Regions from separate parts of the Homo sapiens genome. Here regions 1, 2, 4 and 5 are each linked to region 3. The links are contacts of gene promoters, found by promoter capture Hi-C in blood cells and fetal thymus (Javierre and others, 2016). All regions are on one chromosome and are shown on one strand. The core of a region is centred on a gene start or on the middle of the fragment in contact, and the rest is flanking DNA. Distances in the headings are between cores, read along the strand shown.

Region 1 (4,958 bases), core at 1,948-4,447, 240 kb before region 3:
GGAAAAGAGGAAGCTGGCTTGGGGAGGAAGACAGGAACCCCAGCATGAGCACAGGCCAGCCATTCAGTGAGCAAATAAGCATTTCTGTGCTTCACACAGAAAATGTCGCCAGAAGCAGGGACCCCACCTTCTTCCTCTCTGTCTCCAGCCCCATCTTCAGCACCTGGGCCTACCAGCAATCCCAGATAGTGTCAGATTGCCCACTCCAGCAATCCCAGACACTGTCAGCTCCCCTGAAGTGACAACTTTCCACACCCTAGTCCTGCAACCTTGAGTGGAGAGCACCTTGTAGAAATGTAGTGGGGTTGAGCATGGCGCTGAAAAGAGCCTCTGATTATGGGCTCTGGAAACCACAGATCTCAGGACTCCAAACAGCACAGAACTCGAGTGTCCTGTTTTGAGTGTGAGCCCTACATGGGGGACCATGTTGGTGTTTTCACATTTGGGTCACATTTAGCATTGCGGCGGAAATAATGGCTACCAGTTAGGGGTCAAGTGCTTGCTTACATGATCTTATTTAAAGCGCCCAACAATACTGAGACCTAGTTGTTATTATCTCCTTGTTATATATAAGAAAACAGAGACCTAGTCAGAAGCAGCTTGTCCAAGGTCTCATTGCTTGACAGGAGCAAAGTCAGGATTCAAACTCAGAGGTCTTTTTGGCAAGGATGATGACCTTTTCTTTTTTTTCTAAACAGCTTCATTGAGATAATTCACCTATCATTCAATTTGTCCATACACTAAAACGGCCTTTAGTATATTCAGAGTTTTGCAACCATCACCACAATCATGTTACTGTGTTGCTGTTATAAGTAGAAAAAAAATATTTCCATTCTGAAGAGACGGGCAAACTTCGTGACCCAACCTCTAGACTATGTACTAACTCTGTTGCTGAATGTTGATAATTTCCATTTTCTTCCTTCTCAGTAACGCAGAATCTTGGGATGAGAAGAAAACTTTTAATTTAATTTCTGCATGCCTATATATATCGGGACATAAATGAAGTTTGACTATGGTGTTCCATGGGGAAAATATTGGTGTCTGGAAGTCAGAGTGGGAGGGAATCATTGAAAAATAAGCTAGTCCATCTATATTATGAATGGAGAGAAACTGAGAGGGAAAAGTGGCAAGTCTGGGGGGAACAAAGTAAAGAATGAGAAAAAAAAAAAACAGAAGACGAGGAAAAGGAAAAGTTCACACAGCTAGGAAGTGATGGGGCTAAGATGTAGACCTGAGCCATCTAATGCTAGGCCTAGGCATTTTCCTTTTGTGGTGCAATCTCTGTGCGGGAGAGGCAAGAGGTTTGTGATTATCGAATGCATGAATTACCACTAATAATGTCAGTGCCTAACGATCTGCCCAGGGCTTTGCCACATGTTGCTCCTTTTGTGACAGGTAGGGTATGTTTTTCTGATCCTTTTCTGATGCTCTGAGGAGGGCCAGCGTAGACCCTGTGAGCAACTGAGCAGCTCTGGGCTGGGAAAAGGCAGAATCAAGTCTCTGGTTCCCAGGCAGGTGCTCTTTTTCCCTAGAGCTTTGAGCTCCTTGGACACCCACACACTCACATATACCCACCTGGCCCACTGCTCCAGGAACTTGGTGGGGGCAGAGGTATCCAAGGTCCCCAGTCACATGTCAATGTGGTGATTCCTCCAGGATGGGGTTCCTGGCTGCTGTTAAAGCATTGCCTTTCTCAAACTCTGGAGGCACTTTCTTACCCATACTCCTAAACCCTGACTGCCATGTTTTAGGTGGTGCCCCAAGACCACCTACTGGACCTCTCAGAGCCTTGAACATTTTGTCTGTAAATGGGAAGAAAAACATCAGCCTGTCTGTTAGGGTTAAGTGATGTCATATATGTGAAAGCATTTTAAGGTATAAGACAGCATATAAACATTACATATGATACACTATTTAGTGGCATAATGTATCTGTGAATGTCATCAGAAATAATTTTTTTCTGAATGCTCTTTGTAAATAAAATAAAATAAAATAATTTCCAAAAGTTGCTAGAGGTCTTTGACATTGTTCCCTTGTCCCTAACTGACTCCATCCCCCACTGTATAAATAGATATGTTTATTAAAATCAGAAAATTGCCTAAATTGAACTGAATCTTTACTTTCTTTTTAGAGAGGGTCTCAAAACCAAAGATCTCCTGGACTTGTATCAACACAACCCTGACCTGTGAGGTAATGAATGGAACTGACCCCGAATTAAACCTGTATCAAGATGGGAAACATCTAAAACTTTCTCAGAGGGTCATCACACACAAGTGGACCACCAGCCTGAGTGCAAAATTCAAGTGCACAGCAGGGAACAAAGTCAGCAAGGAATCCAGTGTCGAGCCTGTCAGCTGTCCAGGTGCGTGGCGGGCATCACTTCACAAACACAGCCTGCCAGGCCCTCAGTAGGCAGAGGCATGCTGCTCCAGGTCACAGGTGCTCATGCTGGGAGGCAGCCCTGGCTCAGGATGAGGCATGAAAGCATATCTCTTCCTCCTGGAAACCTTCAAGGGAAGCATCAGGGGAGGTGGTGTTCTATGGTTTTCCATCCTGGGAGTCCTCCCACTGAGCACAATTTGACCACAAGAAATTTTAAAGATCCTCTTCTAGGAGAAAGAATTGCAAAACTGAAGAAGGAGGAGCTGTAGAGAGTATCTCATGCAAAGCCCCATTTTCCAGAGAGGGAAACTGACTTGCCCAAGGTCCCTTGGCTAGTTAGTGACATGATTCCAACTGCTCCCCTAAAGATGGTTAGTGGTCAGCACCTCCCATCAGGAGTAAAGGTAGAAAGGCTGCAGAAACCCTGGGGGGCAGGGTCATGGGGGAATGGAGCCCTTGAGGCCAAAGAGGACTGTGGACAGCAAGGCAACACTCCTGGCACACAACAGGACGGCAAGGCTTGGGGACTAGCTCCAGAAAATCTCAAAACTCCAAGACCATAATGGATCCCCAGTGTCCCAGCCTGATGTGACCTCCAGAAGTATTTCTGAGAGGCAGCCTTCTATAGTGCCCAAGCTCTCGCCTGGGAGTAGAGGTCTGGACTTCTAGTTTGGGTCTGTCCAAATTTAGCCAGAGAATCTTGACAGAGTTTCTTCCCCTCTCTAGGCTTCAGCTTCCTGGCCCACAAAGAAAATAAGCACCATGTTCACAGACTATTAGATGAGTAGGCTCTTGGATCCACTTCCAAGTTCATTCATGTGGGCCGTTGGGCTGCCTCACAATATGGCAGCTAGCTTCCCTCAGAGCCCTCTAAGAAAGAGCAGGAATAAGTGCCCAGGACAAAAGTCGTGGTCTTTTTGTAACTTAATCTCAGGAGTAATATCCCAATCACTTCTGCTGTGTTCTGTTCATTAGAAGCAAGTTAATAAGTCTAGCCCACATTCAATCAGAGGGGATTGCACATAGGTGAGAATACCAGGAAGCAGGGGTCATTGAAGGCATCTGAGAGTCTGCCAATCACCAACTTGACCAGCATCACTTCACCCCCGGTTTTCCCACCAGTCATCCTCCCACATTCCCCCATCACTAAGGCACAGTAAGTGAAGTTGCCTCTCCTTGACTTCGCAACTTTTTTTGAGACAGGGTTTTGCTCTGTTGCCAAGGCTGGAGTGTGGTAGTATGATCATAGCTCTCAGCAGCCTCCACCTCCCAGGCTCAAGCAATCCTCCCACCTCAGCCTCCCCAGTAGCTGAGATTACAGGAGCATGCCACCACACCCAGCTAATTTTTAAAATTTTGTAGAGATAAGGTCTCACTCTGTTGCCCAGGCTGGTCTCGAACTCCTGTGCTCAAACTATCCTCCCACCTCAGCCTCCCAAAGTGCTGGGATTATAGGCATGAGTCACTGCAGTGGCCTCGGGAGATCTTTGATTAGAGTTGCCAGATATAGCAAATAAAAATACAGCATAAGTACGTTTCAGATATTGCATGGAACATACTTATGCAAGAAATTTTTCATTGTTTATCTGAAATTCAAATTTAACTGGGTGTTTTGCATTATATCTGGCAACCCTACTTTTCATGTTTATTTTAACTGGAGCCCACAAGTATAAATATGTGTGTGTATTAGGGATGGAAGGAGGGAGAGAGGGAGGACCTTGGGAGCAGCCAAGGTTTGAAGGCTGGAACACTTATGTCCCTTACTCTATGGTGCAGAGCAGAAGCTCATTGCGAGAAGGACCACTAGGGAGATGGGAAGAATACCTGGGGAGAGATTAGGGTGGAGGAGCTGCTCTTGAAGACCCGAAAAGGGATTTGGAAGTTTTATTCTGAAAGGCCAAGGCAGAGAGGAGCAATGGTCAGAGTCTGACCATTTGGCTCAGATTAGGTGAGTGTTTACATACTTAAAATCAAAATACTAGGAGGAAGGAACAGATTCAGATGCACAAAAATAATTTGTCACATAAACTCATGGGCATGTGATCTCCAAGAGATACTGTTGGAAGATAGTATGCCTGGATTTAGGAACTGGGAGGGCATATTTTTGACTGACAGTGCCACCGCTGCTTCTGAAACATGATGGAACATTCCCCACCAAAAGTACTACCAGGTGCCCCAGGGCACCACCCTGGACAAACTGGAGAGCAGGCTGTGTAAGGCATTGCCTACATTCCTGCATGTGCCCAAGATAAAATTGTGGCCACCCTACCCGATGACTTGGAGGGAAGATGGAGCTGGTGGCTGCATGACTTAGCCATGTGCTCCCCAAAGCATTTCAGGCCTGCCCTGCCCCACCCCGGGTCAAATCTGAAAAGTTCTCAAGCTCAGCAGGAAGTGGCCTCTGGTATCTCCTGCCCCTCGTCCAAGCCAGCAGGGCCTAAAGGGCCCTGAATCCTTTACTGACCCAATTTCAATGGTTTAAGATTATGTCTGCTTCTCTGGTGGAGGCCTCTTCATCAGTAGAGCTTAGAGAGTTGTGTAACTGGCAGGCAAAGAATGGGTCAGAGAGAGACTCG
Region 2 (5,387 bases), core at 2,314-4,813, 160 kb before region 3:
GGGACTTGGTAAGAGGTAATTGAATCATGGGGGCAGGTCTTTCCCATGCTATTCTCGAGATAGTGAATAAGTCTCATGAGATCTGATGGTTTTATAAGGGGGAGTTTCTCTGCACAAGCTCTGTCTTTGCCGCCATCCACATAAGATGTGATTTGCTCCTCCTTGCCTTCCACCATGATTGTGAAGCCTCCCCAGCCACATAGAACTATAAGTCCATTAAACCTCTTTCTTTTGTAAATTGCCCAGTCTTGGGTATGTCTTTATCAGCAGCGTGAAAAAGGACTAATACAGAGAGGACTTACAGAGTCAGACACGGGGACATCATTACTGTGTAGCTGGCACAGAAGGGAACTCCAAGAAAGAATTTCTAGCAGCATGCCACAGACACTGGGGTACCACACCCCCTTCACGGGTATGCCACTAAACACAGATCAGTGTGTAAAATTTGGTTCTGATACAGTCAATGATATATTGAACAGACAGTGTGATGTGGAGTAGAATGGAATATAATTTGCTGCAAAAAGTGGTAGAGGGCGAGGTGGTGGCAAAGACATTTCTCAATTTGACTCAAAATGGAGAACATTGCCCCCTGAGGATATGTGTCCAGCCAAGGCAGGGAATAATTGTACTCAAATTGTGACCCTAGGGTTAAGGACAGTCAAAAGACCAGGAGGATGGCAGTAGATATCACTGCATTTCTTCATATGTACCAATAAAAATCCTAGTATTTAAAAGTGTGCCAGCATGCTGACTTGGACATCACAGGGAGTAAAATGGTAAAACATTGGAGCCAGGTGTGGTAGTGCACATCTGTAATTCCAGCCACTCAGGAGGCTGAGGTTAGAGGATCACTTGAGCCCAAGAATTTGAGACCAGGCTGGGCAACATAGTAAGACACCCATCTCAAAAATAAATTAATTAATAAATTAAGTAATTAAAATATTGGAATAATACAGAGATTATTATGGCCCCTGCACCAGATGCCTTATACCTTCATAAAGCACTCCATATTTGAGAGCACTCTTTTGCATGATTGAATAATTTATAATATATACATTATATTTCTCAGTTTTTCAAAAACAAACAGCAGACTGGTTAAATAAAAAAGGACTGGAAGCCTGGGCACGGTGGCTCATGCCTGTAATCCCAGCACTTTGGGAGGCCAAAGCAGGTGGATCATGAGATCAGGAATTTGAGACCAGTCTGACCAAGATGGTGAAACCCCATCTCTACCAAATATACAAAAAATTAGCTAGGTGTGGTGGTGGGCACTGTCATCCCAGCTACTCAGGAGGCTGAGGGAGGAGAATTGTGTGAACTCAGGAGGTGGAGAGGTGGAGGTTGCAGTGAGCCGAGATTACACCATTGCACTCCAGCCCAGGCAACGGTGCAAGACTCCATCTCAAAAAAAAAAAAAAAAAAAGAACTGGAAATAAATTAATCACCATATTAATGGTGGTAATTCCCAGTTGTAAGAATATGAATGATACTTCTTTTCTTTTTTGTACTTTCTATATTTTTTAATTTTCTAAAAATAAAATGAAAAGGCATAAAAATAATAAAAGAAATGCAAACAAACTGGTTGAAACTCCTAGGGTTTCATAAATATTGTCTCATTTAATCCTCACAACATCTCTATGAGACACAAATTATTTTTCTTATTTTCAAATGGGGAAACTGAGGCTAGGGCTGTTAAACTCTTTAAGGTCATGCAGCTATAAGTGAATTAATTGGATCTTGAGCCGAGGTCTTTTGACTCTAGATTTCATGCTCCTTCTTCCACATCCCGTTGCCTCTGCAAGAACCACATATTCTTCTAACAGCTAAAATAACGGGATATGTTAGAAGGAAAGCCACTGGTCCTCTTCTGCTATTAGCCAGAATGAGTGAAGAACTTCAAACTCCAATAAGTGCCCTGGAAAGTGTAGTAGGTCATACCAGACGACGAGACAGGTGACTCAGGATACTTGACGCCTATCAAAAAATGACCAGGGCTTGCCCGCGGACTCGAGGGACCCTCAGATCAGAGCCTAGAAGAACTAGGTCCTTATTTATAAAATCTCTTCTGTATAGTACATATAATGCATAAGTATACATGCAATCTTGATCTGTCACCTACGTAGGGAAGGCCTTTGAGGTCTTTATTCCAGCTACTATTTCTGAGATATAAATTAGTCCAAAACAACACCTTAAAACTACTATATTATTTTGTGGGGTTTTTTTGTTGTTGTTTTGTTTGTTTGTTTGTTTGTTTGTTTTTGAGACAGAGTCTCGCTCTGTCGCCCAGGCTGGAGTGCAGTGGCCCGATCTTGGCTCACTGCAACCTCTGCCTCCCAGGTTCAAGCAATTCCCTGCTTCAGCCTCCCGAGTAGCTAGGATTACAGGTGCCCACCACCACGCCTGGCTAATTTTTGTATTTTTAGTAGAGACAGGGTTTCACCATCTTGGCCAGGCTGGTCTTGAACTCCTGACTTCGTGATCCACCTGCCTCGGCCTCCCAAAGGGCTGGGATTACAGGCGTGAGCCACCGTGTCCAGCCTTTTTTTAGTTTTTTTTTGAGACAGAGTCTGGCTCTGCTGCCCAGGCTGTAGTGCAGTAGCAGGATCTCGGCTCACTGTCACCTCCACCTCCTAGGTTCAAGCAATTCTCCTGCCTCAGCCTCCTGGGTAGCTGAGATTACAGGCACCTGCCCCCATGCCTGGCTAATTTTTTTAGCAGAGATGGGGTTTCACCATGTTGGCCAGGCTGGTATGAAACTCCTGACTTCAGGTGATCCACCCGCCTCTGCCTCCCAAAGTGTTGAGATTACAGGCATGAGCTACTACACCTTACCAAAACTACCATATTATTTCACTCATGATTTTGTGGGTCAAAAATTTTGAAAAGGCTGTGCCTAGGACTTCTCACTTGGCATCTCTCTTGTGGTTACAGTCAGATGTTACCTGGAGCTGAAGTCATCTGAAGATTCAACAGGACTGGATGTCCAGCATGTCTCATTCACATGATTGGCAGGTGATGGTGGCTGATTAAGCTGTCAACTGGGGAACTCACATGTGGCCTTTCCCATATAGCTAACTCAGGGTAGTTGGACTTCATACCTAGCATCTAGCTTCCCTCAGGACAAGCATCTCATAAGAACCAGGCAGTAGCTGCAAGACTTTTTCTGACATGGCTGAAGAAATCACGTAGCACACTTCTACTTCATTGTATTGGTTACAAATGAATAATTAGACAGACTAGATTCAAGGGGAAGGGAAGTAGGCTCTACCTCTTGATGGAGTAGTACAAGGTCACATTGTGAAAGAGCACACGAGGTGAAAAATGTTGTTTCAGCCACCTTTAGAACATAAAATTTGCCTCAGTCATTTAATCCAGTGTTTCCCAACCTTTGTCACCTCATAGCACACACTGAAAGCATTAATATGTATATGGCTTATGACATGTCAGTTGGAAAGCTCTGACAAGCTAACTATCTGTGATTAAGAAAGCTTCCTTTCCTTACTTTATAGCTAGTGTGCATTCAAGGGCAAGATTTCTCACATGTTTCAGGGTAATTCTTGAACTAACAGAAAAAAAACCTTCCCAGTTCTGATCCCTTTATGTTATAAGTATCTATGCTATAAGGATTTTTGTGTCCAGAAGCTTTGAGATAGTTTTTCATCTTTCCTCCTCTAAACACTAAAGGAAAGATAGCATACATTCTTTATACACTGGATCAGTTAAAAATATATGCTACCAATCAAAAAGAATAATAACTGTAGCAGATTGAACACTTCAAACATGTTTAAATTCATGAGTTCATAATGCTTTTAAAACAATTACGACAGAAATTATTAGAGTACTCTTTGGAAGTTTCCAGGACCCTAACTTATTTAGAAAACTGGAGAATAAAGGGACAGACCAAGCATTTGTCCTGCCTTTCCTGTATGAACTATGCTTCACAGTATGCCAGGTATCAATGTGCTATCTCTCAGCTCAAAGCCCACTCTTTGCTCTGCTTTGCAATTCTGGTGCTGTACCCTGTAAACATTTCTCCTATCAACAGCTGACATAATGTTAAACATTTTTGCCAGTGGAGGGTGCTGGAGGGAAATTGCAGGAGGAAGGAGTTTTTCTGGCTCAGTGTGCTTTCCTCCTTGCTCCTGCAGTGCACAACGACCAACAGTGTGGCGGATGCCCCAGTTAGTTTTAGCAGTACACTTGCGGATAACTTTTTTTTTTTGAGACGGAGTCTCACTCTGTTGCCCAGGCTGGAGTGCAGTGGAATGATCTCTGCTCACTGCAACCTCCACCTCCAGGGTTGAAGCAACTCTCCCTGTCTCGGCCTCCCAAGCAGCTAGAACTACAGATACCTGCCACCATGCCCAGCTAATTTTCGTATTTTTTAGTAGAGACCAGATTTCACTATATTGGCCAGGCTGATCTTGAACTCCTGACCTTAGGTGATCTGCACATCTTGGCCTCCCAGAGTGCTGGGATTACAGGAATGAGCCACCATGCCTGGCCTTGTGGAGAACTTTCTATCAAGCTTTGTCAGCCCCACAGTGGGCATGTGATGGTTAACACTTAGTGTGAACTTGATCGGATTAAAGGATGCAAAGTATTGTTTCTGGGTGTGTCTGTGAGGGTGTTGCCAAAGGAGATTAACATTTGAGTCAGTGGGCTGGGGAAGGCAGACCCACCCTTAATCTGGCGGGCACAATCTAATCAGCTGCCAGCGCAGCTAGAATAAAGCAGGCAGGAGAAGATAGACAAGCAGGCTTGCCGAGTCTTCTGGCCTTCTTCTTTCTCTTGTGCTGAATGCTTTCTGCCTTTGAACATCAGACTCCAAGTTCTTCAGCTTTTGGACTCTTGGACTTACACCAGTGATTTGCCAGGGGCTCTCAGGCCTTTGGCCACAGACTGAAGACTACACCGTCAGCTTCCTTATTTTTGAGGTTTTGGGACTTGGACTGATCCACCAATGGCTTCCTTGCTCCTCAACTTGCAGATGGGACTTTACTTTGTGATCACATGACTCAATTCTCCTTAATAAACTCCCTTTCATATATACATCTATCCTATTAGTCCCTCTGGAGAACCCTGACTAACACAGGGCATTTCCCTGCTTGCCAGCTCTAGCCTAAGGTACTTCAGTGAACATCTCCACTATTCAATCTCCACTCTCCATGGAACAGTCACACTCTCTCCATCATTGGGAATGAGGGACTGTCTTCCAGTTTGTTATTTCCTTGAGTGCTCTGACTGCACTCTAGAAGTAGTGGCTGTTCTCTGTTTCTGCTATTCCTGTATTCTTTAGAGTTCCTTAATCTCTATTTAATAATTTATGTTAAAATTTACCTATTTTAAGGCCAGGCACAGTGGCTCACACCTGTAATCCCAACACT
Region 3 (5,108 bases), core at 1,097-3,596:
AGAGACAACTACAAAAACCTTGTAACTGACCTTCTTGCTTCTAGCCTTGTCTCCCTTCTTCACCTTTCAACCTGTTAGCAATGCACACATACAGAATTCAACTTAAAAGGAAAAACGGAAAATCCAACCAGGCTATACTACCACTAAAAATCTTCATAGCTTCCCTCTTCTTTGAGGTATTAATAAAAGCCAAGCTCTTAGGCTTGGCACACGAAGCCCACTAAGATCTGCCCATCCTACCTGTATAGATCCTTCTTTCACAACAACCTCAAACTTCATTCCAACAAGATAGTACAGCCTGTGTGTTACTATTCATGCCACACGGTTTTTCCCCAACTGTACCTTGGCCCCCTGCCTCTCTAGATGACTCATTGACTCACCTGGCCCAGCCCAATCCATCTTGACCTTCCCTCCTGCCTACCAATTTTCCCCACCCCCTATAGGTGCCCCACTGATTGTTGACACATTGCATTGTGATTATCTGATTTAAGTGGAAGCTTCCTGAGAACTCTAGCACTAGCGTAGTATTAGTCTAGGTTCAGGGCCAACTGTTGCATTTAGATACTCCTCTGCCATCCTTGATACCTGGGTTCACATCGGTGTAACTGCCCATTAGCGTAACTGCCCAACAGGTTTCTCCTTGCCTGCTGCCCAGATAGAACAGACTTATCAAGACAGGAGAATTGCAATAGAGAAAGAGTTTAATTCACACAGAACCAGCTAAATGGGAAACCAGAGTTTTATTACTCAAATCAGTCTCCCCGGAAATTCAGAGACTGGAGTTAGTAAGGATAATTTGGCAGGCCAGGGAGTGGGGAGTGCTGATTGGTCAGGTAGGAGATGAAATCACAGGGGATCAAAGGGGGTTCTTGCAGTCTTCCGTTCCTAAGTGGGATCAAAGAACTGGTGGAACCAGATCACCAGCCTGGATGGTGTCAGCTGGTGCATCAGGATGCAGGGTCTGAAAAATACCTTGAGCACCAATTTAGGTTTTACAATAGTGATGTTATCCCTAGGAACAGTTGGGGAGGTTGGAATTGTGTGGCCTCTGGCTGCATGACTCCTAAACCATAATTTCTAATGTTGTGGCTAATTTGTTAGTCTTACTAGGGAAGTCTGCTCCCCAGGCAAGAAGGGGGTTTGTTTCCAGAAAGGGCTGTTATCCTCTTTGTTTCAAAATTAAACTAAGCTAAATTCCTCCCAAAGTTAGTTTGGCCTACAACCAGGAATTAACAAGGGCAGCTTGGAAGTTAGAAGCAAGATGGAGATGGTGAGGTCAGATCCCTTTCACTGTCATAACTTTCTCACTGTTACAATTTTTGCAAAGGCAGTTTCACAGGGCAGATGAAGATTTACTTAAATGTCTCATGATGGTGATGATGGTAGCTAATATTCATTGAGCAGTTACTATGTACCAGATATTGTTCTAAGTGCTTTAAATAAATTAGCTTGAAACTATCATTCTCAGCAAACTATCTCAAGAACAAAAAACCAAACACTGCATGTTCTCACTCATAGGTGGGAATTGAACAGTGAGAACACTTGGACACAGGAAGGGGAACATCACACACCGGGGCCTGTCATAGGGTCGGGGGAAGGGGGAGGGAAAGCATTAGGAGATATACCTAATGTAAATGACGAGTTAATGGGTGCAGCACACCAACATGGCACATGTATACATATGTAACAAATTTGCACGTTGTGCACATGTACCCTAGAACTTAAAGTATAATAATAATAAAAAAAAGTAAAATACAAAAAAAAAGAAATAAAAAAATAATTAAAAAATTAGCTCATTTGGCATTCACAGTAATCTTACAGGGTACCTACTATTAGTATCCTCATTTTAGCAATGAGGGTTAGGAAAAGTTAATTAAGTTTTCTAAGATTGCACAGTTACTAAAACTAGAATCTGCATGCAAACCCAGGCAGCCTGACTCTAGAGCCTGTAACCTTCAGCACCACCTCATGTCGCCCCAAGTTCATGTTTTTCAGGGGCCTTCTCCCATTTCTCAGTCATTTCCTCTCTCAAGAGAGGAGGAGAAGGAAGGGCCAAGAAGACAACATTGCTGGTGCCTTTTTTATTTATTCAGTTTACCTAAATTCTCTCATCATTACCAAATGACACATACTGTGAGCCAGGTTGAGACCCATCTTTTCTTAGTTTTATCGATATCTGTTTACTTAACCACAAAGATAACTTTTTTACTCCCAAATTTGAGTGATTAGTAAAGAGCTACATAATGTAACCAGTTTTGCTTTTCACAAGACATCTCTATTTCTCAGTGGGCTGAAAACCACACTTTTGCTTCCTCTTTACTTTGCAGTGAGAGCACAGCATTTGTCACTCAACCTCTGAATGTTAGTGACACTATTGGGACGAAAAAGGACTGTGCTGGCCCAAATGGCAGGCATCTCATATGTGGCATCTTTCTTTCTCCTTCTGAGTAAGTTTCATAATCCTTTATGTTTCTCTTGTCACAGGAGTTCATCAACTCAGGGTGCTGAGTGATGGAACAGGACAATTTGGTCTCTACAGGAACAACTATGCCATATATTTCTGATGTTAGCAATAATTTTTGACTTACTAATGACAGTTCTTGGCTTACCTAGACATCCTTGAGTTCCAGGGAGTCACAATGCTTGGTTGAGTCCCATGCACAAGATTCCATTGGTTTTAACATTTGTGTGTGTTGCCAGATCTGTCAGTTTTGCTTGGCCCTGGCTTTACTCATCTTCCTGGGCCGATCATCCCAAGAGACAGTAAAAAAGCTTTGTGTCCCAAACTGAGAGGAGACCTTAAGGTTTGCCTGATATTAAGGCTTGATGGGATAACTATGCCTTGCAGATATGACTGGATGGAAAGAAAGGTTATGAAAGTACTTAGTAGTTTTAGACTATGCTAAAAGAAGGTTCTAGATTTCACCTGCGAGTGGAAGTGGAAATTGACTACTGAGAGACTGAGAAATGAACAGGAAGATTCACTTGGCTCTACTGAGGGCCATGCAGAGGGGCTTGCCTGATCTAGGGGCATTTATCTATGTTTGAATAGGATGGAAGAAGAGAAAATTTGGAGGTAGAAGGGAGAGTCAGATGAGTTGAGCAGGTAATGGAATAGTTTCAAACCAGATAGCAGGTACTTTTTATGCTACAGTTTTCATTAACATCTGGTAAAGAGAATAGACTCCATCTCAGAATAATGTTTAAAATGCATAAAATAAAATGCATAGAATTACAGAGGAAATCAGTCACATTGAAATACAGGTATCAAAATATTTTAAATAAATTATAATGCAGTAATTTATTTGCTTCTTATTTATGCATTACATAACAAAATCTACAGGTAGGTCTTTTAACCACCAAACTTCAAAGTAATGATGAGTATAAATAACATTTCAATATATCTTAAGTAGTTGTAATGTGATATGAAGATATCTGTGGTTGTCTACATACATAACTGAAGAAAATACTAAATTTCCATTAGAGGCAAAAATGAAAATAAAGATGTAAGATTATTTTTCACCCTAGTTTATGGACCCTTTAATCCTACATGTGGACCCAGTTAAGAACTCTTGCTTTATAGCTGGGCATGGTGGCACATACCTGTGGCCCTAGCTACTTGGGAGGCTGAGGTGGGAGAATCGCTTGAACCTGGGAGGTGGAGGTTGCAGTGAGCCAAGATTGAGCCACTGCACTCCAGCCTGGGTGACAGAGTGAGATTCCATCTAAAAAAACAAACAAACAAACAAAACTCTTGCTTTAGAGAGACTGGATGGAGCCAGTGCAGGGACCCGAATGGCTGGGATGATTGGGGAACTAAACCAAGCTGCATTTGGTGTGACCAGGACTATGGCTGAAGAATTAAAAGAAAAGAATACAGCATTCAGCACAAAGAGGTTGCTTAATAAACATTGATTGAGTTGAATTGTGCTCATGTCTCTAGGTACATATGATAGTGTGAGGTTAAGAGTCAGACCTAGGGCCTGCAGGGGAAGTTACTGGGACCACTTGCTGGGTGACGGATGCCTGCCAGACTGGCTTGGCGGGTGTTGATGGATAGGTGCACTGGTGGGATCCTTTGGGGGCTGGTGTGTTTTTGTTGTTTGGTTAAGTTGTCTGAGTGTGATTCTCAAGTGTATGTGCTTTGTGTATTTGAATTCTATGTTTGCTATGTATATAGGAGGAAACTGGGTTTACATTGTGCAATAATTCATAGAATTGCAAATTCTGTCTCTTTTTTTGGTAAGCAGGCTAGAAGCCCTGGGGGAAGGAAAGTAGTAATCAAGGCTCAAAAAGGGGAAGCTGGAAGCTTTTCCTTAACCCATTTAAACAATTACCTAAACTGGGTTATACATTTACTTCTTCTAAATTCTGACTCATCTGAAGCACTAATTTTGTGTAGAAGCACAGTTTTTATGTGAAGAATACATAAATCAGGAAGTTACTGGAAAAAGCTTTAGAAGTCTGCTGTTTGTCCTTACAAATATAGAGGGGAATTGAAATAAATTATTTAAATAACGATCTATTGATCAATTACATTGGTTAGCAAATTTACACTTTGTCCCAATTTTTTTTTAGTAAATATAAGGACTGAACAATCCTGATAGAAAATGGTGCCATATGAGATTAATGTCATGGGTAAATGAGTTCTCGGATTTAGCAGTTAGCTTTGTCTGCTTGATCTATTTCCCCCACCCAAACTAGCTGCCCTACAAATAATGGCCATTAATATGGCAGGGTTTGGGGGAAGGGCTATTGTCTGTCTTACTGAGTTTGCATTCATGAAAAATAAAAAAGATTCCACTTAGTATGGATGGAAGCTATCTCAGCCTCCAAGCATATAGGGTTTTTGAATGTGAAAAGAGAAAGAAGCTGCTTGTTATGTTGGCTATTCCTGAGGTAGGTTTTGTATAAGGTAGCATTATTTGAAACTGCTGTTTTTTTGGTATAAAAAGTGCTCAAGTATGGACCATTTTATACAGTTCAACCTAATCGTTTTCATTCAAATAATACTGCAGTGGTAAATTTGACAATTCCAGTGATATTTTTAAAGAAAGTCAATACCATCGAGGAATTTTTGGTGTTTTGAAAGCATGATTCTAATGTTA
Region 4 (5,359 bases), core at 2,759-5,258, 220 kb before region 3:
CTCAATAAGGTGACACAAGCGGGAGCCGTTTTTACGCAGTTCCAATAGTGACCGATTCACGTGTTTTCCAAGTGTAAGACACACTCCATCGCATTCAGCCGGTTCTCCGCCTGGTGTCTTGACTCCTGAAGGAAGACTCCGCCCCTTCGTTGTTTCTGCAGCTTCATCGGTTTCTCAGCGGGCTCCCTCTCCTCATGAGATTAGTGAAGAAATAAGTTTTTGGCAAAATTCCTCAAAGCTACGTTATGGCGGTGAAAGCATCAGATGTGGACAGGTAGATGGAGGAGGCTGGAGCGCCAGGTTGACCGGGGGCCTCAGGGCGGTCCCAGCGCACGGTGAGGAGGTGGAAGCTCTGGCTCTGAGCCGCCAGCCGCTGGGGCACGGGAAAAGCGCCAGTTCCCTCCAAGCACAGGTGAAGCAGGAAACCGCGGTGACTGTCGGCGAAGAACATCTCCAGACCTAAATATTAGATGCAAAATTATAAAATGCCTAGAAGATAATCGGAGAAAACCTGGAGGACCTTGGTCTTGGCAGTGACTCTTTAGATACAACATCTAAGGCAAGATCCATGAAAGAAAAAATTAATAAGCTAGACGTCATTAAGGTTAAAATTTTCTTGGGTAGGTTTAGTGGATCACGCCTGTAATCCCAGCACTTTGGGAGGTCAAGGCGGGAAGATTGTTTGAGCCTAGGAGTTTGATACCAGCCTGGGCAATATAGTAAGACCCTGTTTCTATAAAAATTTTCTTAAAAAACTAGCCCAGCAGGGTGGTACACACCTGTAGTCCCAGCTACTAGGGAGGCTGTGGTAGGAGGACCACCTCAGCTAGGGAGGCAGAGGTTGCCATGAGCCGTGATCATGCCACTGCACTCCAACCTGGGCGACAGAGCAAGACCTTGTCTGAAAATTAAATTAAATTAAATTAAATTAAATTAACATTTTTTTGCTCTGTGAAAGACAGTCAAGAAAATGAAAAGACAAGCCACAGGCTATGAGAAATTATTTGCAAAAGACATGCCAGTTAAAGGATTATTATTCAAAATATACAAAGAACTCTTAAAACTCAACAATAAGAAAACAAGCAACCAGATTAAAAATGACCAAAGACCTTGACAGACACCTCACCAAAGGAGATATACAGATGGCAAACACCTAAGCACACAAAGAGATGCTCTATATCATATGTCATCAGGAAAAATGCAAATTAAAACAACAATGAGAATACCGCTACATACCTATTAGAATGGCCAAAGTCCAGAATACTGACAACACTAAATGCCAGTGAGGATGTGGAGCAACAGGAACTCTCAAACATTGCTGGTGGGAATGCAAATGGTACAGCCACTTTTAAAGACAGTTTGGCAGTTTCTTATAAAACTGTACATACTTTCCCCATACAATCCAGCAGTCATATTCCTTGGTATTTACCGAAAGAAGTTGAAAACTTGTTCCTACAAAAGACTGCCCACACATGCCCAGAGCACCTTTATTTATAATGACACCACTTGGAAGCAACCAAGGTGTCCTTCAGTAAGTGAACGGATAAATAAACTGTGGTACATCCAAACAACGAAATATTAGTCAGTGTGAAAAAAGTGAGCTATCGGCCAGGCATGGTGGCTCACACCTGTAAGCCTAGCACTTTGGCAGGCCGAGGCAGGTGGATCACTTGAGGTCAGGAGTTCCAGACCAGCCTGGCCAACATGGTGAAACCGTCTCTCTTCTAAAAATGCAAAAATTAGCCAGGCATGGTGGCATGCACCTTAGTCCCAGCTACTCGGGAGGCTGAGACAGGAGAATCACTTGAACCCAGGAGGTAGAGATTGCAGTGAGCCGAGATTGCACTACTGCACTCCAGCCTGGATGACAGAGTGAGACTCCATCTCAAAAAAAAAAAAAAAAAAAGTTAGCTATCAAGCCATGAAAAGACATGGAAGACTTAGATGCATATTACTAAGTGAAAGGAGCCAATCTAAAATGTCTACACATACCATATGATTCCAACTATATGACACTCTGGAAAAGGCAAAACTGTGGCAACGGTAAAAAGATTAGTGGTCGCTAGGTGTCAGATGGCAGGAAGGGATACATAGCAGGAGACAGATACTTTTCAGAGATTTGAGAATACTTTGATTGATACTATAATGGTGGATACTTGCCTTTACACATTTGTTCAAACTCAGAATGTACGTCAAGAGTGAACCTTATTGTAAACTATGGGCTTTAGGTGATAATGATTTGTCAATGTAGACTTATCGATTGTTAAAAAATGCACCAGTCTTGGTTGGGGATGTTGATAATGGGGAAGGCTATGTGTGTTGGCGGAGATAGGGGGGATATGGGAAATTTCTATAACTTCCTCTGAATTATGCTGTAAATCTAAAACTGTTCTGAAAAATAAAGTCTATTTTTTTAAAGTGCTTACCAAGGACCTAGCACCATGAAAGAAAATGTATTCACACCAAGATATATGATTGTAAAACTTCAGAACACTGGGACAAAGATTAGAAGGGGAGAGAGGAAAAGGGGTAAGGGGAAGGAAGAAGAAAAAAGGCAGTGGAGAGAGAGACAGAGAGAGACACCATACCAAGTATCAAGAATTAGAAAGAATTAGAATAGCACTGGATTTCTCAACAACTATACTGGAAGCTAGAAGACAACAAAGCGATGCTTTCAAATTCTGGGGAATTTTCAGCTTAGTATTCTAGGCAAACTATCAACTATGCATGTGGCTTATAGAGAAAACATGTGTTATACAAGCTTTTCTGAGGCATGAGTCATAGTGCTGGTGGCCATGAGTTCAATGTTAATGCATCAACAATATATCTCAAATAAGATGTCTTTAAACAGAAACACACATAAAATTAGGTTTTGTATTGATCAGTTGACTCACTGTTTACTCACTCAGTGTTAAGGCTCACAGGAATCTAACCCTGTATTTCCCCTGGGAGCAATGTTTCAGTTTGCTAAGTCAGTGTTTGCAATAACTTTACAGAGCATAACTACCATGAATAGTGAGAATCGGCTGTATAGACTTTTCCTTTTCTTTCTTTTTGCACTGTCTTCAGATTACCTCTTCTCATATCCCCTTTTCCACCACTGGACCAACTACACTGTTGCTGATGATTGCTGTGGTGATGAGGCAGGACGGGAGTGAACAAGTAGAGAGTTTACCAGCTCTCCCCTGTCCTTTCCTTCTCTGCCCCAGTTTGCAGACACCCATCCCCCAACATGTGCTTGCTCACATTCTGGTTCAAAAGAGCCTTCAGTCTTCTCAGAGGGTTCTCAATTATATGTTAGTTTATCATGTCCATGATTATTTCTCTTTTGTAGCTTTTCTCTGCTATAGTTCTGTAGTTTACAGTTGTGGAGGAAGGTACCAGCAGTACAAGCTGGTTCATTGGCTTGTCAAAAACTTGATCAGGGAGGATGTTAGCAATATGATGCAAGAACAACCAAGAAGAAATATCAGGTATGAAAAATATAACTGTTGAAACAAAATGCATAATAGCTGAAGTATGAATCAGGATAGATACAGCTAAGGACTGAATTAGGAACCTGCAAGATCATTGCAAAGACCTATGCAAGAATGCAGGGGAAAGTAAAACAGCTTTTCTTTAAAAAAAGAAAAGAAACAATAGGGATATGAAGGATAAAAATATCAGTATTCAGATAATAGAGATTCCATAGGGAGAAAAACATAAAGTTGAAAATTGAGCCTATAATATAGAGCCAAAGAGAGAGAGAGAGAAAACCCCAAAATTAGACATTTTACTGAGAATTAGAATCATCAAAGACTGCAAGAAATTTTTAGAATGTTTTCAGAGAGAAAAACATACAAAAGAACAAGCATTAGATTGACCTGAGACCTCTCAGTAACAATGCTGGATGCAAGAAGACAAAGAAGTAATATTTTTAAAGTGTTGTGCAGTCATCCCTAGGTTTATGTGGGGGATTGGTTCCAGAACCCCCATATATATATCCACGTCTGCACATGCTCAAGTCCTGCAGTTGGCCCTGTAGAACCCACCCATGTATATGAAAAGTCGGCTGCCTGTATGTGTGGGTTTCATATCCCACAAATACCATATTTTTTATCTAATTTGGTTGAAAAAAATCTGCATATAAGTGGACCCCTGCAGTTCACACTCAAGTTTTCAAAGGGTCTACTGTACATTGAATTTTACATACAGACAAATTGACATGAAACATGAAGATACAATTTAAAAATTCTGGACTTAACAACCATAGTTTCTGGTATACAAAATCTCAGAACCTATGTCATACAAAAACTTACTTTGAAAAACCCTTGGAAGAAATATTCAAATTAGAGGAAAATAAATACAACAGATGTTGTATAGAAATGTGAAGTTAGGGTGATTAAATAATTTGGCAAATTAATTGTTATCTTAAAAAATCAAAGTGTGATGAAAACACAAATTAAAAACCATATTCATAAAAACCCAGAACTAAATTCTGTCTAGACCATATCAGTTGTGTGTGTGTTATTGTTGTTGTTGTTATATGTATTGGTGGGGGAGAGAGAAAGAAGAGTCCAGAGACATAAGAGAACATGCTAAACTACTTGCCTTATTGGAGGAAAGAAATAGGTATTTATAAGTTTAGTAAGTCAGGATGAATAAATAAACAAATATGTCTTAAGAGCAAAGACCATAAAAACAAAAATAAAATACGTTCTTTTAAACCAGCAAAAGAAAATCGTATCTACTCAGTGAAGAGTAAAATTAGAAAAGAAAAAAAAGTATCAGTAATGAAAAACATGAAATAAAATGGAAGAAATAAGTAATAATATAAAGTGATTATGAGAAATGTAAATAGGTTAAACAACCAATCAAAAGAGAACATCTCAAATTGAGCATTTTGAAAGATCCAACAATATACTGTTTACAGAAGACAACTTTACAACAAAAGAATACAAAAAGTTTGAAAATAAAGAAAATATGATCCAAAAGAAAGCTGAAGCAACAATCTTAATATCTAATAGAAAAATTCAAAGGACAAAAAAGGAAACCATACTTGTTGAAAGAATAGTAGAGCAAACACATATGCACCTGACAATATTGCAACAAAAAAATAAGGTAATCGACAGAACTTCATAGCAAATAAATAAATTAATCATTTTAATTGGAAGTTTTAACACAAAAAAATTATTGAGGAGGAAATGGAGTCTTCAGAAATGAATAGGTTTAGCAGAGAAAAAGCAGTGATATAGAAATCTGAGTATTTTAATTAATAAGCTTTATTTATATCCAACAGAAAACACACAATCTTTTTGGGCATATATGAAACAATTTTAAAAATTAATCATATATTAATCCACAAAGAAAGTTACAAGAA
Region 5 (5,401 bases), core at 2,830-5,329, 130 kb before region 3:
CACATTGAGTGATGTCACATTAGTAACTTGAAATCAGTCATGATGGGTGTATTTACACCAAGAAAATTGGCCAGCTCTATCAGTCAGGGTTTCCTCCCTGCATCCCCCAGGGAAGCCAGTGGTTAAACATTTAGCAGCACACTCCTGATTGCAATCCTTAAGACTTACTCACTATTCGGTATTTACTGGCTAAGACCAACTACAGTATAAGGTCCTCACAACTGAGCATATGAAGAGCACCTTTCCTCAAAGACCCACCATAAGGCAGGTGGAGCATGGGGCTCAGGTATTCCTTCTATTTCCGGACTTGATGATTCTGAATTGTTTCAACTTCCTGAAATTCTTACCTTCCACCAGAAAGGCTCAACCACTTTGAATTTTCTAACCTACCTTTTCTTCTACCAAGGTTCTAAATCATCTTGTGGCTATATTGCTCCTCAGCCCAGATCTCTGCTGTTATGTGTCCATGAGATGCCTAACTCTGCTTGAGAAAGCAACGGAATGAGGGAACCAAAGTGTCCTTCTCCTGAGCAGTCCTAGAGATTGGGTTGTGAGTAGGTCACTAGCATAACTCTGGGGAATGGATCAGTTCTTAGAATGATGCTGCTGCCAAGGCGAGGCATGTTATCCCAAATCTCAGTGGCTGTTACAAGAGGAGGAGACTACCCAACTGCCTTGTTTGGAACATGACCCATGTTGGCCAAGTATCTCTCTGCCCAGTGAGTACACTAAGGTAAGACCAAACAGGACTGGACACTTTGCACTCAAGTTTCCCTGGACCTAAAATAGTAGCTATGGATTTGGAGGGGGAAAGGCTAGCTTTCCCTTTTGGACTTCCTGCAATTACTAACATGGGGGGGTCTTGAATAATGTGCTCTGGGAAATGACTGGGTACATTATATGCATCTCAAACTGGGTAGAGAGGCATCCCAGTTCAATGAAACAGAACAAGATGAAAAGGCTGGGCACGGTGGCTCATGCCTGTAATTTCAGCACTTTCGGAGGCCAAGGCAGGTGGATCACAAGGTCAGGAGTTCAAGAGCAGCCTGGCCAATATGGTGAAACCCCGTCTCTTCTAAAAATACAAAAATACTTGGGAGGCTGAGGCAAGAGAATCACTTGAACCCGGGGGGCAGAGGTTGCAGTGAGCCGAAATCTCGCCACTGCACTTCAGCCTGGGCGACAGAGTGAGACTCCATCTTAAAAAAAAGAAAAAGAAAAAGAAGGAGATGAAAAGGAAGGAGAAGAGGAGGAGGAGGAAGGAGGAAGAGGAGGAGGAGAAGGAGGAGGAGGAGGAGGGGGAGGAGGAGAAGAAGAAAGGAAAGAAAGAAGGAAAGAGAAGGAATGGCACAGATTAGACAATGAAGAACAAACCCCGGCTATTCTGCCTCAGACTGCCCCTTCTGCTGCATTCTCCGACTCAGTTAATGTGATCTTCATTTTCTAGTTTCTCAGATCTTTATTTTTTACTTCTTTCTCTCACAACCCAAATTTAATCTATTATCAACTACACTTTCTCTCTCTTTTTTTTTTTTTTTTTTTTTTTTTTTTTGACAGAGTCTCTCTCTGTTCACCAATCTGGAGTGTAGTGGCTCAACCTCAGCTCAATGCAACCTCTGCCTCCTGGGTTCAAGCAATTCTCTTATCAAGCCTCCTGTGTAGCTGGGACTACTGGCATGCACCACCATGCCTGGTTAATTTTTGTATTTTTAATAGAGACGGAGTTTCGCTATGTTGGCCAGGCTGATCTCAAACTCCTGAGCTCAAGTGATCTGCCTGCCTTGGCTTCCCAAAGTGCTGGGATTACAGGTGTGAGCCACTGCGCCCAGACATTTATCAATCATACTTTCAAAATAAACCTAGAATGTACCCTTTCCCTCACCATTTACCCCTGCCACCCCCCGATCGCAGTCACCATCGTCTCTCTCCTGCATGATCACAAACGCTGCTAATGGGCCTGTTTCTGCCCTGGCTTTCTCTTGTTTCAACAGAACAACCAGAGTGATCTTGTTAAATCATGAGCCAAATGACATCACTCCTCAGCTCAAAGTCTTCCAGAGGCTCTCATCGGGAATGAAGGCCAAAGTCCTTCCTCTGTCCTGCGGGACCCTACTGATCTGCACCCCTTGCCTCTTCAACCTCATTGCCAACTACCTCCCCCTTGTTCATTCTGCCCTATCTACGCTGGCCTCTGTGCTGTTCCTTGACTATATACCAGACAGATGCCCACACCAGGAACTTTGCAGTTACTATTTGCTCCCCCAAGACACTCTTCCCCCAGATAACCATATGCCTGATTCCCCACTTCTCTTAGTTCTGTACTCAAAAGTCATCTTCTGAGTGAGTCCTTTCCTGGCTACCTAACCAAAACATCTCCACCATCTCCATGCTTCATATTCCCTTTCTTTGTTTTTTTTCTTCTTGGCTTTTATTACCCTTTGTATATTTATCTTTTTTATTGACTATCTCTCATTAGCATATGGGTATATGAGGGCACAGATTTTTGTTTTGTTTACTCTCCAGGTTCTAGAACAGTGCCTGGTTCATAGTAAATGCTCATTTCAATGATCTATTGCTGCATCATAAGCCATCCTAAAATACAGGGACTTGAAACAACAGTTTATTAGAATCTCACAATCTCATAGGCTGACTGGGCTCAACTGGGTGGTTCTTCCTTGGGAATCTCTCATGTGGTTGGAGTCAAATGGCAGCTGGGACGGGAGTCATCTGATAGACTTGGCTGACACAGGATGCTGGCTACTGGCCAGGAGTTCAGCTCCGCCCACTGTCTGGAGTGCCTACATGTGACCCCTCCAAGTTCACTGGGGGCACCAACTTTTTTCTTTTTCTTTTTTTTTTTCTGAGACAGAGTCTCTTTCCATCACCAGGCTGGAGTGCAGTGGCATGATCTCGGTTCACTGCAACTTCCACCTCCCAGGTTCAAGCGAGTCTCCTGCCTCAGCCTCCCGAGTAGCTGGGATTACAGGCACTCGCCACGACATCCGGCTAATTTTTTGTATTTTTAGTAGAGATGGGGTTTCACTACGTTGGCCAGTCTGGTCTCAAACCCCTGACCTCATGATCCACCCACCTCAGCCTCCCAAAGTGCTGGGATTACAGGCGTGAGCCATGGCGCCTGGCGAGGCACCATCTTTAAAGATTAACTACCAGGGTATTCAGTGAATACTTGTGGGATGAAGGAAGGCAGAAAGGGAGGGGAGATGGTGGGAGGGAAGTAACTGGAAAATTTACAAAAAAGAAAATGAGGAAGGAAAGGAGACAGCAGAAAAGGAAGGAGAAAAGGAGATGTGGATTTCTGAATATGATGACAGTATTATAGCCCGGGAATAAAATCCATCCTTTCCTGCCTGACCCTTCTTTCCCATCTCCCTCAAGTTGCATAATAACCTGCTTGGAAGCAGAAATTCAACTAACGCCACATATCAGAACTGGAGCGCTCTTGGCAGAATCTTCTACAATTTATACCCCAAGTTCAAATTTAAGCCAAGGCATATTTCCAAGGAAAGAACAACACAGTACTTTATCTTGATGTTGCTCCTCACCCTTGGTGATTTCAAAGCAGGTTTATAAACAAGCGCTGTCATTGTGCAAGAGAGGAAATGGAAGGGAACTAGTAATATTTAGGTAACCAATAACAAAATCTTTGAGTCAATATTATAGTGAAATGATTAAGTAATTACGTGGAATCAGAGGCAGACTACAACTGCATCAAATTAATAAAGTAGAATTTGGAAGAAATAAGATATAAAAATTTCCACATAAAAACTGAAGTCAATTGAGGCTGTAAGGAGCTAGAAATTAAAAATAGATTTATACCAAACTAGGTAGAACAAAATTGAAACAGTTGTTGAGATATTAAAAATGGATTTGCTTTTAAAACCGTTTGGAATAGTTTAGTCATTTTCCAGAGCCATAGATATTCTGTGCCAGTTGAGCACTTTTTCCCAAACCAACCTGGCAGACGGTTGTCTAATCAGGAAGCTTTGCAGGCAAGTTCCTTGGCTAAAACCCATAGGAATAAATGAATTTGGGTTTCTAAAGTTCCAGTGTCTCAGTACAAAGAGAGATAGGTAACCCTTTTTCCTAGAGATACTGATGATGATATAAATTGTGGTATGACAGAATGCAAATTCCCTAAGCTTGGAATTCTCCTCTAACTGACATGTCACAGAATAAGATGGCATCATGTTTACTTCAATTTGTGGTCTCTCTAAACCACTTTGGTCTTTGGCCCCCAGATCTGCCCATTTCAGGGAAACTGGAGTAACTCAAAAAAGTAACTTGTCATGAATTAGTTAGGATTAGGTTTGGCAGCAGGATATTGAACTCTCCCTACTCCCCAACACCTTCACCTCCCTTAAAAAACAATAACAAAAAAAAAAACCAGTGGCTTAAACAACATGAAAGTTTATTTCTCTTTCATATAAGCCTGAATAGGTAGTCCACAGATGGTAAAGGGCTCCACAGTGCAGGGAATCAGATTTTTTTTATTTTTATTTTTCTGCCTTAACTGCATAATCTCCACTTCCTAAATCATCCTATCGTCCAAAATGAATGCTTGAGCTCCATCCCGCATATCCCATTCCATCCAGGAGAAAGAAGAAAAAGGTAGAGAGCAGGAAAAGCTCCCTGCCTTTAAGAACACTTTCCAGAAGTTGCTCACACTACTTCTACTTACATCTAACTAACCAAACGTTAATCCCATGACCGGGAGAGAATCAAGAAGACTGGGAAGCAGTCCTTCTAGCAGCAGGTGCCTAGCTAAACATTTAAGGTCCTAATACTTTAAAATAGAAGAAAACAAATGTTGTGAGACAATTAAACAGTCTCTCTGCTACAGTTTATCCCTTTGGCCTCCCCAAATATATGGGCATCCCCATGTAGGACACAATCCCTCCTCAAGGGGAAGAAACCCAGGGACTGCCTCCAGATCAAAGTCAAGATCTCTGAGTGAAGTGTAGTCTCCGTCTTCAAATCCAGATATGATGTTCACAATCTTGCAAGCTGTTTTAGTCTGTTCAGGTTGCAATAACAAAATACCTTAGACTGTGTACTTTATAAATAATATAAATTTATTTCTTACAATTCTGGAGGTTAGGAAGTCGAAGATTAAGGCACCAGCAAATTTAGTGTCTGGTGAGGGCTCTCTGCCTCGAAGATGGCACCTATTGCTGAATTGTCACATGGTGGGAGGGCAAAAAAGGGCCAGACTCCCTTCAGGCCCTCTTATAAGGGTACTAATTTCATTCGTGATGTCGTCACCTGCTGAAGACTACCCCCCGACCCCTTACTATGATGACATTGGGGATTAAGTTTCAACATGAATTTTGGAGGAGCCATATTCAAACCATAGCACAAACCATAAACTAAAAGATTAGTT

What was found. Contacts are between HindIII fragments. The CHiCAGO score rates a contact against its expected background, and 5 or more counts as called.
Region 1: a contact is called between a fragment that was not itself captured here and the fragment with the promoter of CD101 in region 3, in 1 of 17 cell types (naive CD4 T cells). The highest score is 5.0, in naive CD4 T cells.
Region 2: a fragment that was not itself captured here is called in contact with the fragment with the promoter of CD101 in region 3 in 9 of 17 cell types (M0 macrophages, total CD8 T cells, M1 macrophages and 6 more); the score reaches 7.3 in M0 macrophages.
Region 4: a contact is called between a fragment that was not itself captured here and the fragment with the promoter of CD101 in region 3, in 3 of 17 cell types (naive CD4 T cells, total CD8 T cells and naive CD8 T cells). The highest score is 7.5, in naive CD4 T cells.
Region 5: a contact is called between a fragment that was not itself captured here and the fragment with the promoter of CD101 in region 3, in 4 of 17 cell types (M1 macrophages, M0 macrophages, naive CD4 T cells and 1 more). The highest score is 6.1, in M1 macrophages.

What each region holds. Positions count from the first base shown.
Region 1 is chr1:116,758,271-116,763,228 of GRCh38, forward strand. It overlaps CD2 (CD2 molecule), which reads left to right. Exons shown (of 5, transcript NM_001767.5): 3 at 2,132-2,362. Among named protein-coding and RNA genes, the nearest start is that of CD2, 6.3 kb to the left of the region's middle. The HindIII fragment of the contact is 8,969 bases long and covers 1-4,958 here.
Region 2 is chr1:116,838,756-116,844,142 of GRCh38, forward strand. No RefSeq gene overlaps it. Among named protein-coding and RNA genes, the nearest start is that of PTGFRN, 68 kb to the right of the region's middle. The HindIII fragment of the contact is 154 bases long and covers 3,487-3,640 here.
Region 3 is chr1:116,999,414-117,004,521 of GRCh38, forward strand. CD101 (CD101 molecule) reads left to right here and starts at 2,347. Exons shown (of 10, transcript NM_001256106.3): 1 at 2,347-2,447. The coding sequence starts at 2,405. The HindIII fragment of the contact is 2,275 bases long and covers 496-2,770 here.
Region 4 is chr1:116,775,182-116,780,540 of GRCh38, forward strand. It overlaps the pseudogene FTH1P22. Among named protein-coding and RNA genes, the nearest start is that of CD2, 23 kb to the left of the region's middle. The HindIII fragment of the contact is 2,498 bases long and covers 2,760-5,257 here.
Region 5 is chr1:116,868,458-116,873,858 of GRCh38, forward strand. No RefSeq gene overlaps it. Among named protein-coding and RNA genes, the nearest start is that of PTGFRN, 39 kb to the right of the region's middle. RefSeq lists an enhancer at 2,570-2,864. The HindIII fragment of the contact is 158 bases long and covers 4,001-4,158 here.